Regions from separate parts of the Homo sapiens genome. Here region 1 is linked to region 2. The links are contacts of gene promoters, found by promoter capture Hi-C in blood cells and fetal thymus (Javierre and others, 2016). All regions are on one chromosome and are shown on one strand. The core of a region is centred on a gene start or on the middle of the fragment in contact, and the rest is flanking DNA. Distances in the headings are between cores, read along the strand shown. Region 1 has its middle 23 kb from the start of SDK2. Region 2 holds the start of LINC00469 (long intergenic non-protein coding RNA 469).

Region 1 (7,135 bases), core at 3,435-5,934, 160 kb after region 2:
CATTCTGATAATTTCTGTCTTTTAATTTGAGAATTAGGTCCATTTATAATTTTAAAAATTATTCATATTGTTAAATTTAAGTCTACTTTCAATATTTGCTTTCTCATTGTCCTATTTTTTGTTCCCCTCTTCTCCACTCCCTGCCAGCTTTTTGGATTAATTATTTTTCAGTATTCTATTTCATCTCTTCCACTGATTTTTTTTCAGTAATACCTTTGTGTTAATATTTCATGGTTACTCTAGGGTGCAATATGCATCTTCAACTTAACACAGTTTGTCTGTAAATAATGTTGCACTATTTTACAAACAACGTAAAACTCTTACCGCTGCATAATGTGCCCTCACTGCTATATATTTTACTTCTACATAAGGTAAAACCCCACAATACATTGTTATAATTTGTACTTTTGACAATAGTCTTCTACAGAAGTTTAGAAATATATTTACATAACACATAAATATAATTTTTAATATCATCAGGCTTATACTTTTTGATACTCTTCATTTCTTCCCACAGGCATTATTCTTCATTTCTTCCCATCTGGTATTATTTCCCTTCTACCCTGAAAAACTTCTTTTAGCATTTTTTGTCATTTTTTGTAATCCAAATCTGCAGGAGAAAATTTTCTCAGCTTTTGTCATCTGAAAACATTTCTGTTTCACCTCTGTTTTTTTAAGAATATTTTCACTGGGCATCAAATCCTAGATTGAAAATTCAGTTTTTGAAAATTCAGTTTTTATTTTTCACACTTTAAAGATGTCATTCATTGTCTTCTGGCCTCTAATTTTTGTGTGTGTGTGGAGTCACTCATCATTCTCATTCTTATTCCCCTTAAAATATAATTTTAGTTGGTGGCTTTAAAGTTTTTATTTCTCTTTAGGTTTTCAACAGTTTGATTATGATATGGGTGGGTATGGTTTTGTACATGTTTACACTGATTAGAGATTACTAAACCTCTTGAATCTATAGGTTAATGTCCTTAACCAATTTTAATATATTCTTTCTTTTTTTTCTTTTTTTTTTTTTGAGACAAAGTCTCTCTCTGTCACCCAGGCTGGAGAGCAGTAGTACAATCTTGGCTCACTGCAACCTCCACGTCCAGGAGTCAAGTGATTCTACCATCTCAGCCTCCCAAGTAGCTGGGACTACAGGTGTGCACCACTGTACCTGGTTAATTTTTTGTATTTTTTGGAATGGACAGGGTTTTGCCATGTTGGCCAGGCTGATCTCGAACTCTTGGCCTCAAATGATCCACCCACCTTGGCCTCCCAAAGTGCTGGGAATACAGGCATGAGCCACCACGCCTGGCCCTCAAATATTCTTGACTATTATCTGCTCAAATATTTCTTCACTGCATTTTCTCTCCTCTTCTTCCGGGGCTCCAATTATATGTATATTAGGTCATATTGGTATTTTTCCCAGGGCCCAGATGATCTGTTAGTTTGTTGTCATGTTCTTAGTCAGGTGGTTTCTTCTGGCCCAACTTAAAGTTCACCAATCTTTTCTGCTATGGTGTCCAGTCTGCTATTAAGCCCATTCAGTGAATTCTTTATTTATGATACAGTAGTTTTCTGTTTTAGAATAACCATCTGAGTTTTTCAGTAGTTTGATGCTGAAATTCCCCATCTGTTCACGTATGTTGTTCACTTCTCAAACTGAATCCATTAAAATATCTAAAATTGTTACTTTAATATCTTTGTTGGCTTATCGTAACATCTGGAATATCCATGGATCTGCTTTAATGACTTTTTTCCCTTTTGATTATAGGTCACATTTCTTGCTTCAACAAGTGCTTTGTAATTTGTAATTATATTTCAGACATTGTGTATAGATGAACAGGAGAGTCTAAAGTATTAATAATAGAGTCTATATTACATATAGTATACCACATACTATATAATATTTCTATTATAGAATATAATAGAAATAATATAATATAATAAGATATAATATAATATAATAGAAAGCCACCATACTCACACAAAAGGAAGTAGAAAGTAGGAAGTAAGAAATATATATACTATATAATATAAATAAATACTATATAATTTCTACTATATAGTATATATGTATATATACTATATATACACCATATAATATGCATATAATATACATGCATTACTTAATCTATATATCATATATTATATATTATTTCTTATATATTATATATCATATATTATATAATTATATTACAATTATATATAATACATATATAGTAATATAGTCTAAAGTATAATTACTCACTGAAGTGAGAGGCTGAGTCAACTTATTCTGTGGTTGAGTTGAGTTGAGTCTCAGCTCTAGTGACAGCCAGTTCACTATGGACTTCAAATGTTTTGAGGGTTGGATCCCTGCAGCAGGATTCGGGATCTGAATTCCAGCAAGTCTTCTGAACCACAGCTGATCGCGCTCTGCTTTGGCTTTTGGGTCCACTGAGTTCGGCTTTCCCTCTGGGGTGATGTCTCTTCATTCCACTTCTCTGGCCATGTCCTCTCGCTGGCATCTGCCTTGCCCTTGGTGACATCCTGGAACACACCAAGGACATATCTCAGCTCTCCTGATTTGCCTCCACCATAGCCATACATTTGGAGGTAAAGGTGGGAATTGTGACTGGGATCCACGGGCTACAAATCTGTCATGTTGGCCTCTACATGACTATTAAAAGTTGATTACACTTTGGCAGGCTGAGGCAGGCAGATCACGGGGTCAAGAGATAGAGACCATCCTGGCTAACACGGTGAAACCCCATCTGTACTAAAATATACAAAAAGTTAGCCGGATGTGGTGGCACGCACCTGTGGTCCCAGCTACTCGGGAGGTTGAGGCAGGAGAATTGCTTAAACCCAGGAGGCAGAGGTTGCAGTGAGCCGAGACTGTGCCACTGCACTCCAGCCTGAGTGACAGAGTGAGACTCCATCTCAAAAAAAAAATAAAAAATAAAAAAGTTGATTATAGTTTGGCTTGTTTCTTTGTACCCCTATCCATGCTGGGTTTACCCCTCCTCTCACCACCCTCCAGTCATGAGTCTCTTCTGTCCTAGGAAGGGCTTGCAAATTTATGTCCTCAGCTCTCTGATGGATTTTAAAAGAGGTGATTTTGTAACTTATGTAGCTTGTTTTTGTTTGGGGGAAAGAAAATCAAAGTGATGGTCTCTTGTAATTTTCTGCATCCTAACTGATAGCAAAAATCCATTCTAACCAGAAGCAGATGTTCTAATAAGCAGTGATTAAGTGAATGTATGTTCCTTCTGCCCGGGCAGCTCCTGAGCCTCTTGTCTATCTGGAAGATGCTCCCTCAGCCTCCACATCTTCCTCCTTGAAGTCTTTCCCAATTTCCCCATAGCCTTGGGCACTTCTTATACTAGTCTCCTCTGTTCTTTGATCCTGCCTACATTAAAGCTATTTTTCTCAAAATATCATAATTGTTTTCATGTCTGTCTTCTCTGTTGAACTTTGAGTTCCTTGACAGCAAAAACCCTGTAGTTAATAAATTGTATACATATATACACATGCACCCAAATGCACACACACACGTGCATATATGTACTATATACATATACATACATTATCCACAGAATACACTCATCACTAAACCAAAATGTGCTTACTCAACAATTAACACGTGATTTCCATCTTTTGTGATCAAGTCCTCATGCCCTGTCTGACACATGGTAAGCGTGCAATACGTGTTTGTGGCGTTCATGAATAAATAAATAAAAGAGCAAACTCCTGCCTCTGTCCTGAAGCTTCATCGCCATTAGACATAGTTACTGCTGGCTCACGTGATCTTTTACTTTCTGCTTCGTTGGGAGGGGACTGAGTGAGTGGACAAGTGTTTATGTGCATATGCAAATTTAAAATTCAGCCTGATTATTCTAAGTTTGGGGTGTTTGCTTTGAAGTTACATTTTTGGCACCAAGAGCCAGTGTCCAGAGGTGGCACTAGGCAGAGGATTTGGAAATCTGCCCAAAGCTGGCCCATGGTTGGTTAAATCTACCCCTGACAGGAAACAGGGCTTTGAGAACTGAGCTGCTGTACCAGGAAATGGTCTTGAGCAAGTTTGGTGCTCTCTGTTTCTATTCTTAGAATTTCAGATCCAGGGCAGGATAAGGACATCAAGGGCATCTATTACAACTCTTTAACCAAATCAGATGCTTGAAAGTCCTCATATGTCTCCTCCGTCCCCAGAATCCTTCTTTCCAACACAAATGTTCAATTATGCATGAGACTGGAGTCAGACAGAGTTCCAATCTCATCTCTTAAACTCTCTGAGCCTCTGTTTTCCTATCTGTTAAATGAGTATACTAATGCCTACCACCCAGGATTATTTTGAGCACTCAGTGAAATCCTGTTTGCAACGTGTGAGCACCAGGTTTCTTCTCTTTCCTGGCATCTTCTACCCACCTCTGTGTGAGCATCTTTCCATCACCATCGGGAAAAGTCACCACTCTGGCCGAAAGGCAGAGTCAAGGCACAGTAGGGTGTTCGCTTTCTCCTTCTCCTTCTCCATCATCTCCAAAGTTGCACTCAGTCCAAGCCACCCTCAGCAGGGCAGGGCCTAGGGAAAGAAGAGGTGGGAGAGATTCATCACCAGGGCTGCTGGGAGCTTAGAGGTGACCACGGAGAAAGAAAGGAAGAGAGAGAAAGCAGACGGGAACAGGGAGCCACAGTACTCACACAGAAGGAAGCTGAAACAATGCTGCCCAGCAGAGGCCACAGACAGCCCCTGCCCCTGCCCTGGGCCTGGAGAACTGTGCCCAAGATCAGCTGTGCCTTCATGCAGCCAGGCCAGGCATACCAAGGTGGATGAATAAGTGGGCCAATTGCTGAAAGCATGGCCAGTAAAGACAGATTAACACAGTTTGATCATAAGAGAGAGATATTAGTCTGTTCTCACGTTGCTCTAAAGAACTACCTGAAACTGGGTAATTTATAAAGAAAAGAGGTTTAATTGACTCACATTTCTGCAGGCTGCACAGGAGGCATGGCTAGGGAGACCTCAGGAGACCTACAATCATAGCAGAAGGCAAAGTGGAAGCTGGCACGTCTTCCACGGCCAGAACAGGAGGAATAGAGCGAAGGAGAGGGTGCTACACACTTTTAGACAACCAGATCACTCACTATCATGAGAAGAGCAAGAAGAAAACCTGTCCCCAGGATCCACTCACTTCCCACCAGGCTTCTCCTCCAACACTGGGGATTACAATTTCTCATGAGATTTGGGTGGGGACACACATACAAACCATACCAAGAGGATTTCAGCGCAGCCACATGTCCATTTTTTTCATCTTTTTATCAGTGGGGAAGCAGGAATAAATGAATATGGCAGAGAATGTGAGGGAGTGAGAGCAGAAACTACAAGTGGAGAGTCCTGACCTCTCAACTTGGCAAGTATCATAATAATAAAGCCTGAACTTGGATTTATGAAACACCTACTAGGTGCCGGTCACATACAGACAGAATCTCCATTCTTCACATCAAGGTAGGTAGTATGCCCACAGTACAGATGAAAACACGTGTCGGTCATAACACTCCAGGATTTGCTCCTAGGAGTGTCTGATGCCACAAGGCAAACTCTTTTTACTAGATCAATCTGCCTGATCTTCAATCAGGTAAGCTTGGGTGGGTTAATACCTGTTCCAGTAACCAGGTATCTCTTTCCAAAGTCTTGTGGATGTCCCTATAGGATTGAATGTGACACGGAGGGGAGGAAAGTCAGGAAGAAGGGAGACGCGGGAGGGAGAGAGAGGGAGGGAAGACAGAGACAGAACACACATGGGTGTTTCTCTCCTTTCATAGTAATGGATAGTAATTCTGAGAAAGTTCCCTTTGCAGGATTCAGGCTATGTTTGGGAGTTTGTTTTCCCACTCTCTGCAAGAAAGTTAATCAATTTTAGAACCAGCCCCTTCTGTGCCAAGATGACAACTGGGAGAAAAGGGATTGGTTTTTTAGCTGCTGGGTTTGCTGGGCAGCCCCCCTCCCACTTCCATGGGGCCACTTATTGACATTGAAATATCTCGACAATAAGCAGCTATTGATGGCTCCTGAGGTCAATACCAAGATTCATTGACCCAGGCTGCAAATATGGAAGGCGGTGAGTCCAAGGTCACTATTACCTGAAGCGATGCAAAATAAATCTTGATAAGAACCAAAAATAGAAATCAATATGCATACTGTGGTATGCATTGCATTACCTCTCTCCAGCAGGAGGCTATTTTAGGAGGTTTCAGGGCTCTTCTGCCATCAGAAGCTGAGCTCAGGACTGGAGAGGAAGTAGGAATAGAAAATGATCCTTCTCTGGTTGCCCCAGTCAAGGAGAATGAGCAACCTACACCACCGGTAGGGATCAGCCTGGTCTCCACAGAGAACCTCAGCACCTCCGGTCACTCTTCCAACCTGGAGAAAGAGCAGAGTGAATTTCCAAACCGTATGTGCCATGATGGGTGAGGCAAGGTGGCCATTTCTTCAAAGCATACTTTAGTGAACAGTGCCAGGAGAAGCACCTTTGGGGTAATTAACATGACCTTCACCTTTTGGGGAAACTTCTGCTTCCAAAGAGGATGTAACCTGGTGAGGAAGGGGAGACCCAGGGCTCAACCAACTACTAAACCCAGGGTCGAGCAGGATTCACTGATACAGCTGGCTACCTAGTGACATATGCCTGCCTTTCACAAAGATTTCAAAGGGCTAAGTTGCCGTGATGTGACATATCCTCTCCTTTCAAGGCTATTTTTTTATAATTATTTGTTTAAGCTTAATTAACTTCTTTTCCAGTTACAAAAGAAATTCGTGTTCTTTGTAGAAAATGTCAAGCCTATTTATGATGATCCTTTTAATCTCACCCAGAGTGTTCATGCTGTCTGAAAAAGTGAGGAGAGTATGAGTTTTGAATTCAGACAGATCTGAGTTCTAGTTCCAGTTTTGCAATTTAATAGGCATATGGTCTCAGGCAAGTAAAGGAGTAATTTTCTGCTGCCCTTTTCTCACAATATAAACCTTCTTTGTGAAGTTGATGTAAAGCTTAGAAAAGGATTTATGTAAAGTCCCCAGCAAAATACTAATAGAGTAAACAAATGTCTGACAATTTTGATCATGAAACACACATTCACATAAAAATAAGTAACTTAAGAAACA
Region 2 (7,076 bases), core at 3,873-6,372:
TTATTATTTTTAGAGACAGAGTCTCACTCTGTCGCCCAGGCTTGAGTGCAGTGGCACCATCTTGGCTCACTGCAACCTCTGCCCCCTGGGTTCAAGTGATTCTCCTGTCTCAGCCTCCCAGGTAGCTGGGATTACAGGCGCCTGCCACCATGCCCAGCTAATTTCTTGTATTTTTAGTAGAGACGGGGTTTCACCATCTTGGCCAGGCTGGTCTTGAACTCCTGACCTCATGATCCATCCGCCTCGGCCTCGCAAAGTGCTGGGATTACAGACGTGAACCACCACACCCAGCCAGTAGCTTTATTTGATCCTGAGGGTGGCTCAGAAGATGCCTAGACTTCCTGCCACTAGTAGATGGTTTAGATCCAAGCCTTTAGTTTTTTATTTTATTTTATTTATTTATTTTTTTATTTTTTTGAGATGGAGTCTCACCCTGTCACCCAGGCTGGAGTGCAATTGCACTATCTCGGCTCACTGCAACCTTCACTTCCCAGGTTCAAACTTCTGCCTCAGCCTCCCGAGCAGCTGGTACTACAGGTGCCTGCAACCATGCCCAGCTAATTTTTGTATTTTTAGTAGAGACAGCGTTTCACCATCTTAGCCAGGCTGGTCTCGAATTCCTGACCTCGTGATCCTCCCACCTCGGACTCCCAAAGTGCTGGGATTACAGGTGTGAGCCACTGCGCCCAGCCAAGACTTTGGTTTTTGTTATACGTGGGCAGCACCCAGAAATGGCACTCATCTCCCATTTGCCCTAAACCAATAACACCTTGTGAATCAGTCATCGACTACTGTGTAACAAATAACCCTAAACTTGGTGTGGCCTCAAACAACAACCATATACTCAGTCTCAATTCTGTGGTTTGCCAATTTACAGTGGACTCAGCTGGTCTGAGATGTTCTACTGAGCTTCACTGAGCTCAGCTGCATTCATCTGCACAACTGCTGGGTGGGCTGGAGGCTGGTTGGCCTAGCTGGGCCATGGGCTAGTTCAGGCTTGTTCACAGGTGGTCTTAGTGTTCCACGGTCAAGAGTGGAGGCTTCATGGCCTTAGAGTGGACACATTGTCACTTCTACCAGCTTCTGTTGACCACAGCAAGACAAATGGCCAGTTCAGATTCAAGGGGTGGTGTAGTAGTTTGAATAGTGTCCCCAAAAAATGCGTGTCCATCTGGAACCTCAGAATGTGACTTTCCTTGGAAATAGGGTCTTTGCAGATGTAAATAATTAGGGATCTCCAGGTGCAAACATCCTAGATTTAGAGTGGGCTCCAAATCCAATGACCGGCATCCTTGTAAGAAGAGAGGAAGACACAGAGACAGAGAGACACAGTGAGAAAGACACACAAAGTCAGAGGCAGAGATTGGAGTGATGGAGCTACAAGCCAAGCAAGTCCAAGGATTGACACCAGGAGAGAGATCTGGAGTGGATTCTCCCCTAGAGCCTTCAGAGAGAGCATGGCCCTTCCAACAACTTGACTTTGGACTTATTCTGTTGTTTCAGCCACCTGCTTTATGGCAATTTGCTACAGCAGCCCTAGGAAGCTAATATGGGAGGGAAATAGACTCCAGCTCTTGATGGGGGAAGATGCAAAGTCATATTGCAAAGGATGAGAATACAGGAAGGCAGGGGGAAGTAGAGCCTCTTTTGCAATCTTGCACCTTGGTTTACCAGTCCCCACTTTGTTCCTGGCAGGTGTCTTAAAACCGAAGAGCATCACAGAATGCCAGACACCAGACACTCACCACACGCAGTGGGTGCTATTTCTGCACCAGGCTCCAGAGAGTGCGTTCCTGGGTGCTGACGCTCCTACAGCTGCCTCCTCTGCAACAGCCTCTCTTCCCTGTACAGATTCCTCACCACATCCAGCCAAATTGCCTTCATCTCAGCAGAGGCTGTAGAAGGCAGACGGCCAGGAGAGTGGGGCCGTCAATGCACTGGGTACAGCAGTGATCCTCCAGGATTTTCAACACCTCAGGTCCTAGTGGCCTGGGATGATCTGACCCCAGACACCCTCCCCAGATGCAAGTCCATCCCCAATGCACAGGAAGGAATACATCTCTGGATTGACTAAAACATCATACTGGAAAGGAAGTTTGACAGAGGAAGGTCATTCTCATTCCACAGGCACTTCAAAGACAGGCTTCTCTCTTGGGAGTCGAGCTGTAGCTTCCATGAAGTTTTCAGCACGTTTTCTGAATACCCACCTGTCATCGATGCTTGGAGGTGCAAAGTGGGTTGGATGACTGAATCCTGCCCTTGAGAGCTGACACTGTCACCAACGTTGTTGAGATGGGCTGGAGTCACCCACTGAGCACTCAGTGACTGGTACGCCAAAGGCCAAGGCCTCACGGTGGACACCATGATGAAAACAACATACAATTAGATGGGAGGAAAACATTCTGTTCTTCTCTGGCACAGAAGAGTGGCTATTGTTAATACTAATGTACGGAATATTTCAAAATACCTAGAAGAGAGGACTTCGAATGTGCTCACCGCAAAGACATGACAAATATTGGAGGTGATGAATTTGCTAATTACCCTGATTTGATCCTTACACAAGCTATACATGTGTGGACACATCACACTATACCCCATAAATATGTACAACTATATGTTCTTTTTAAAAGATGGAAACGATGCCAATGTCCATCAACTGGTGAATGGATAAACGGAGTGTGTGTGTCCATATGATGGGATCGCATTTGTCCATGTAAAGGAAGGAAGTGCTGATACACGCCACAGCGTGTGTTGGTGGACTGCTCGGGGCCCATGCACACCTTGTGTCCAGGCTTCCTCTTGCAGGACCAGGATCTTCCCTGTCTCCTTCCACGTTGCTGAAGAGTCACCCTGCATCAGGCAGTGGATCACAGTGGCAGAGTGATGAGCTTGATAGACAAGGAGCAGCCTTCAGGGAGCTTTCACCCAGTAGGGGAAATGGATGAATAACCAACAACAACACCTACTTACAGCTTGTGAAGGTGCCAAAAAGAAACCAGAAAGGTGCCCTGGGAGAGGGGAGCTGGGGTGGGGATAGTGGGTGAGAAGGAGTTGAAATCTGAGCTGGGACATGAGGAACTGTGCTATACAGGGTTGAATAGTGCCCTCCCCTGCCCCCACCACCATTCATATTTTCTCCAGGAACCTCAGAATTTTTTTTTTTTTTTTTTTTTTTTAAAGAATCAGGGTCTTAGTGTGTTGCCCAGGCTGGTCTTGAATCCTGGCCTCAAGCAATCCTCCCACCTTGACCTCCCAAAGTGCAGGGATTGCAGCGTGTGCCACCATGCCCTGCCAGAATATGATCTTATGTGCAAATAGGATCATTGCAGATGTAGTTAATGTGAGGTCATACTAGAGTAAGATGGGCCCTTAACCCAATATGATTTGTGTCCTCATATGAAGGGAGAAGAGACACAGCCATGCACAGAGGAAAGACAGTGAAAGCACAGACACGCAGAGGGAGATGGCCTCGTGACAACAGTGGCAGAGGCTGCAGCGATGCAGCTACAAGCCAGGGAACCCGGAGGATTGGTGGTAACCACCTGCAGCTGGAAGAGGCAAAGAGGATGCTCTCCCACAGCCTTCAGAGGGAACAGGCCCCTGGCAAGACCTTGACTTTAGAGCTGGGCCTCCACAATGATGAGAGAAGCCATTTCTGTTGTTTGAAGGCACCCAGTTGATGGCAATTGGTTACAGCGTCCACAGGAGGCTGAAACAAGAGCGAAGACTGTTCCAGCAGAGGGAGGAGCCAGCGCAGATGACTTCACGAGAAAGTTCCTAGGCCTGCTGGAGCAGCGGCCGGGACGCCCAAAGGAGCGGGAGCCCTACAGGCAGGCAGGGATGGTCCCAGAAGGAGTTGGTGCCCAGCCACAGGGTCTTGTAGACCATGGTGATGATGTTTGTTTTATTCTAAGAACGCTGGGAAGTCATTGAAGGATTTTACAAGAAAGATGAAACATGATTTGAAGTTCATTTTTGAAAGATCGCATCAGCTGCTCTGTGAAGAGGAGTTTTGAAAGAGGCAAGAGAGGAGGCAGGACAGCCACTGTGGCCTGCAGGTCCTCAAACGATTACACAGAGTTACCGTGTGACCCACAGTTCCACTCCTCTGTATAGACCCACGAGAAACGAAAACATATATTCATACAGAAACCTGTACAAAATGTTTAAAGCAGCATTATTTGTAATAGCCCAAAGATAGAAACGACATAAATGTCCACCAATGAATCCATACAATGAGGTAGTTATTTGGCCATAGAAAGGAATGAAGTGCCGATAGGACAGCATGAATGAACCCGGGAACCATCACGATAAGTGAAGGAAGCCATTCACAAAAGACCACGGATTGTATGATTCCATTTAGACAAAATGCCCAGAAGAGGCAAATCTCTAGAGACAGAAAGTAGATTACTAGTTGCCTAGGGCTGTAAGGGTGAGCGTTGGGGAGGGGAGATAGCTGAAGGGTCAGAGCTTCTTTTTGAGGTGATACAAATGCTGTAAAATGGACCACGGTGACGATTGCAGCTACATGGAATATACTAGCAACCATTGAATTGTATACTTTTTTTTTTTAAGTGAAAGCAAGCTTATTAGAGAAGTAAAGAAACAAAAGCATGGCCACTCCATAGGCAGAGTAGCCTGAATTGTCCACTTTAAATGGGAGAATTACATAATATATGAATTACATTTCAATAACGCTGTTTAAAAGAAAAAAAAAAGAGTGAAATCTCAGAGGAGGCCACTGAGCACTCTGGTGGAAGAAAATGGTGACTTAGGCCAGGGTCATAGAAGTAGAGACAGCAAGAAGGGATGAAAACAGTGGATTGTGGAGGCCGAATAGACAACCGATGAATAGGTCAACACCTGCTGTCCATCTGTACGAGGGAATATTATTCAGCCATAAAAAGAAATGAAATGAACCTTGCTGCAACATGATGTTAGGTGAAATAAGCCAGACACAAAGGCCCCATATGGAATGATGTCACTTACACGAGGTTTCTACAATAGGCAAATTCATAGAGACAGAAAGAATGGAGGTTACCAGGAACTGGGAGGAGAAAAGAATGGGACATTATTATCTCACAGTTCCAGAATTTGTTTGGGATGATTTAAAAAAAAAAAAAAAAGCTCTGGAAATAGATCATCAGGATGGTTGCACAATGTTTTGAATGTAAATGCCACTGAATTGTACACCTTAAAAGGGCTCAAATGGTAAATATTATGCTATGTATATTTTACCATGATGAAAATAAACGTACAAAAGTGAGACAGCAGTGAGTCTAGGCCTCCCTTTTAAGAAGCGATGGCATCAAAGAGAGCAGAGGAAGAGAGATGGAAGTTAGGAAGGGGTTTTTCAAAGAGCAGATTCACGGGAAACGATTCATTCGTGCAGGAGAGAAAGGATGAAGGAGGAGCGGGGTCCCTTGAATGTCCACAGGCAGAAGACGAGGGCAGAAGGGGAGGAGGTTGTCTTTGTGGCGGACAGAGGAGCTGTGAATAGGGAGGGAAACAAGGGTGTGCCTTCCGTTTACTCAGCACAGGAAGAAGCAAGGCGAGGAAGAACAGGCTCCTTTTTGAAATGCAAAAGCCTGTTCTTATCTAAACACTCTTGCATAAGACAAACAAGAGCGCTACCCAGTTGGTGACTTGGGACAGGAATGCCTGCCACCCTCTTAAACGTTCTCTCCCCTCCCCTAGCCTAGACTGAAGACCTCGGCCTCCAGCTTCTCTCCCAGACCCTTTCTTGGCTGGATGAGGTCACTCACCCCTTTTGAAAGCTCCACAGGCATTTCTGGACCAAGTTCCCTCACTCTTTTAAATGGTTCTGTAATTGCTTCATTCGCATAAACCTGCCCTCCTGGGCATCTGAACAGCCCCAGGGCAGGGCCTGACTGCAGAGCCAGCTTCCTTACGCCAAGGCCCTCGTGCCTGCGTCCCTCCTCGCCTTCAGCCATGAGGTTGCCTGGCCAGCGGTGGGGGTCGCCTGGATCGTGGGGATGTTCCCCCCACCCACCTGGCCCCACCAGTGAAGGGCCCCAGCTGACACCATCTCTCTTGTTTCCTGTTTTCCTGGGTCAGACCCAGCTGGAGGTCTGCAAATTCTGAAGCAGTTCTCAACCCTGGGTGCACATTTTAATCATTTTTTACAAAATACGAATGCCTGATGTCCAGCCCTGACACTGGTCTGCTTGGTCTGGGGGTGAGGCCCTGGAACGGATGTGTTTAGATTTCCCATGAGACTCTGATGTGCAGCCAGGGTACCAACCTCTGCTCTAAAGCAGGTGAGATTGCCCTGGGGACTTCATTAGAATCAGTGCCCAATTCCTCCACCCCCGCAGAGATTTCGCTTCTGGAAGTCCAGAGTCGAGGTCCAAGAATCTGTGCATTTTAACAATACAGCCCCCAGGGGAGCTTGATGAAGGTCCCTTGGGAAGTTCAGGGCATGGTGCAGGGGACACTGTCTCTCTCTCCTTCCCTCTCATCTGCATCAGCTCCCCAGGCAGGTGGCACTTTCTCTGGACAGGTCTGGAGTCAGGGCTGCAAGGCTGGTTTATGCCTGGAGGTCGGGGGATGATGTGAGGTGTGCATAGAGAGAAGCCCCTGTGAGGAACGGGGACCACTCCTGCTCACCCACATCAGTGACAGCCCAGCCTGGGGCTGGCCCTGGAAGGCCAAAGAGTGAACAGGTCTGGGGGCTGGTGCTGGGTTGAGCTCAAGGGCCTGGGGCTGGGGTCTCCATTCCAGATTCCTCCTTCCCTCTGTCACTTCAAGTACCATCAGAGCCACCTGGGGATTTTGTCCTGAGTCACTCTGAGGCAGAGCAGGTGAGGCTGTGCTGGGGAGGAACATGGGGGCCTGAGCCCCCGACTCCTCCCCATTCCCCCACCTGCCCTGCTTCAAGGACTTGTCTAAACTACACAATGCCAGGCCGGCGCTCCCAGCTTGGGCTCTCACCCCAGGTCCCATTGAGAAGGTGGAGAAGGGTCAGGATGGAAGTTTCAGGCAGGTGGTCCAGGAGAGGACAGTCCTGGGTGGAGTCTGGGTCTTGGGTGCTCTGGGCAGCTCATCACCTTGAG

Evidence for each region. Contacts are between HindIII fragments. The CHiCAGO score rates a contact against its expected background, and 5 or more counts as called.
Region 1: a fragment that was not itself captured here is called in contact with the fragment with the promoter of LINC00469 in region 2 in 1 of 17 cell types (naive CD4 T cells); the score reaches 5.1 in naive CD4 T cells.

The regions. Positions count from the first base shown.
Region 1 is chr17:73,664,233-73,671,367 of GRCh38, reverse strand. No RefSeq gene overlaps it. Among named protein-coding and RNA genes, the nearest start is that of SDK2, 23 kb to the right of the region's middle. The HindIII fragment of the contact is 1,871 bases long and covers 3,749-5,619 here.
Region 2 is chr17:73,826,583-73,833,658 of GRCh38, reverse strand. It overlaps LINC00469 (long intergenic non-protein coding RNA 469), which reads left to right and starts at 5,122. Exons shown (of 4, transcript NR_027146.1): 1 at 5,122-5,211. RefSeq lists enhancers at 3,284-3,783, 3,784-4,285, 5,276-5,785. The HindIII fragment of the contact is 4,592 bases long and covers 4,588-7,076 here.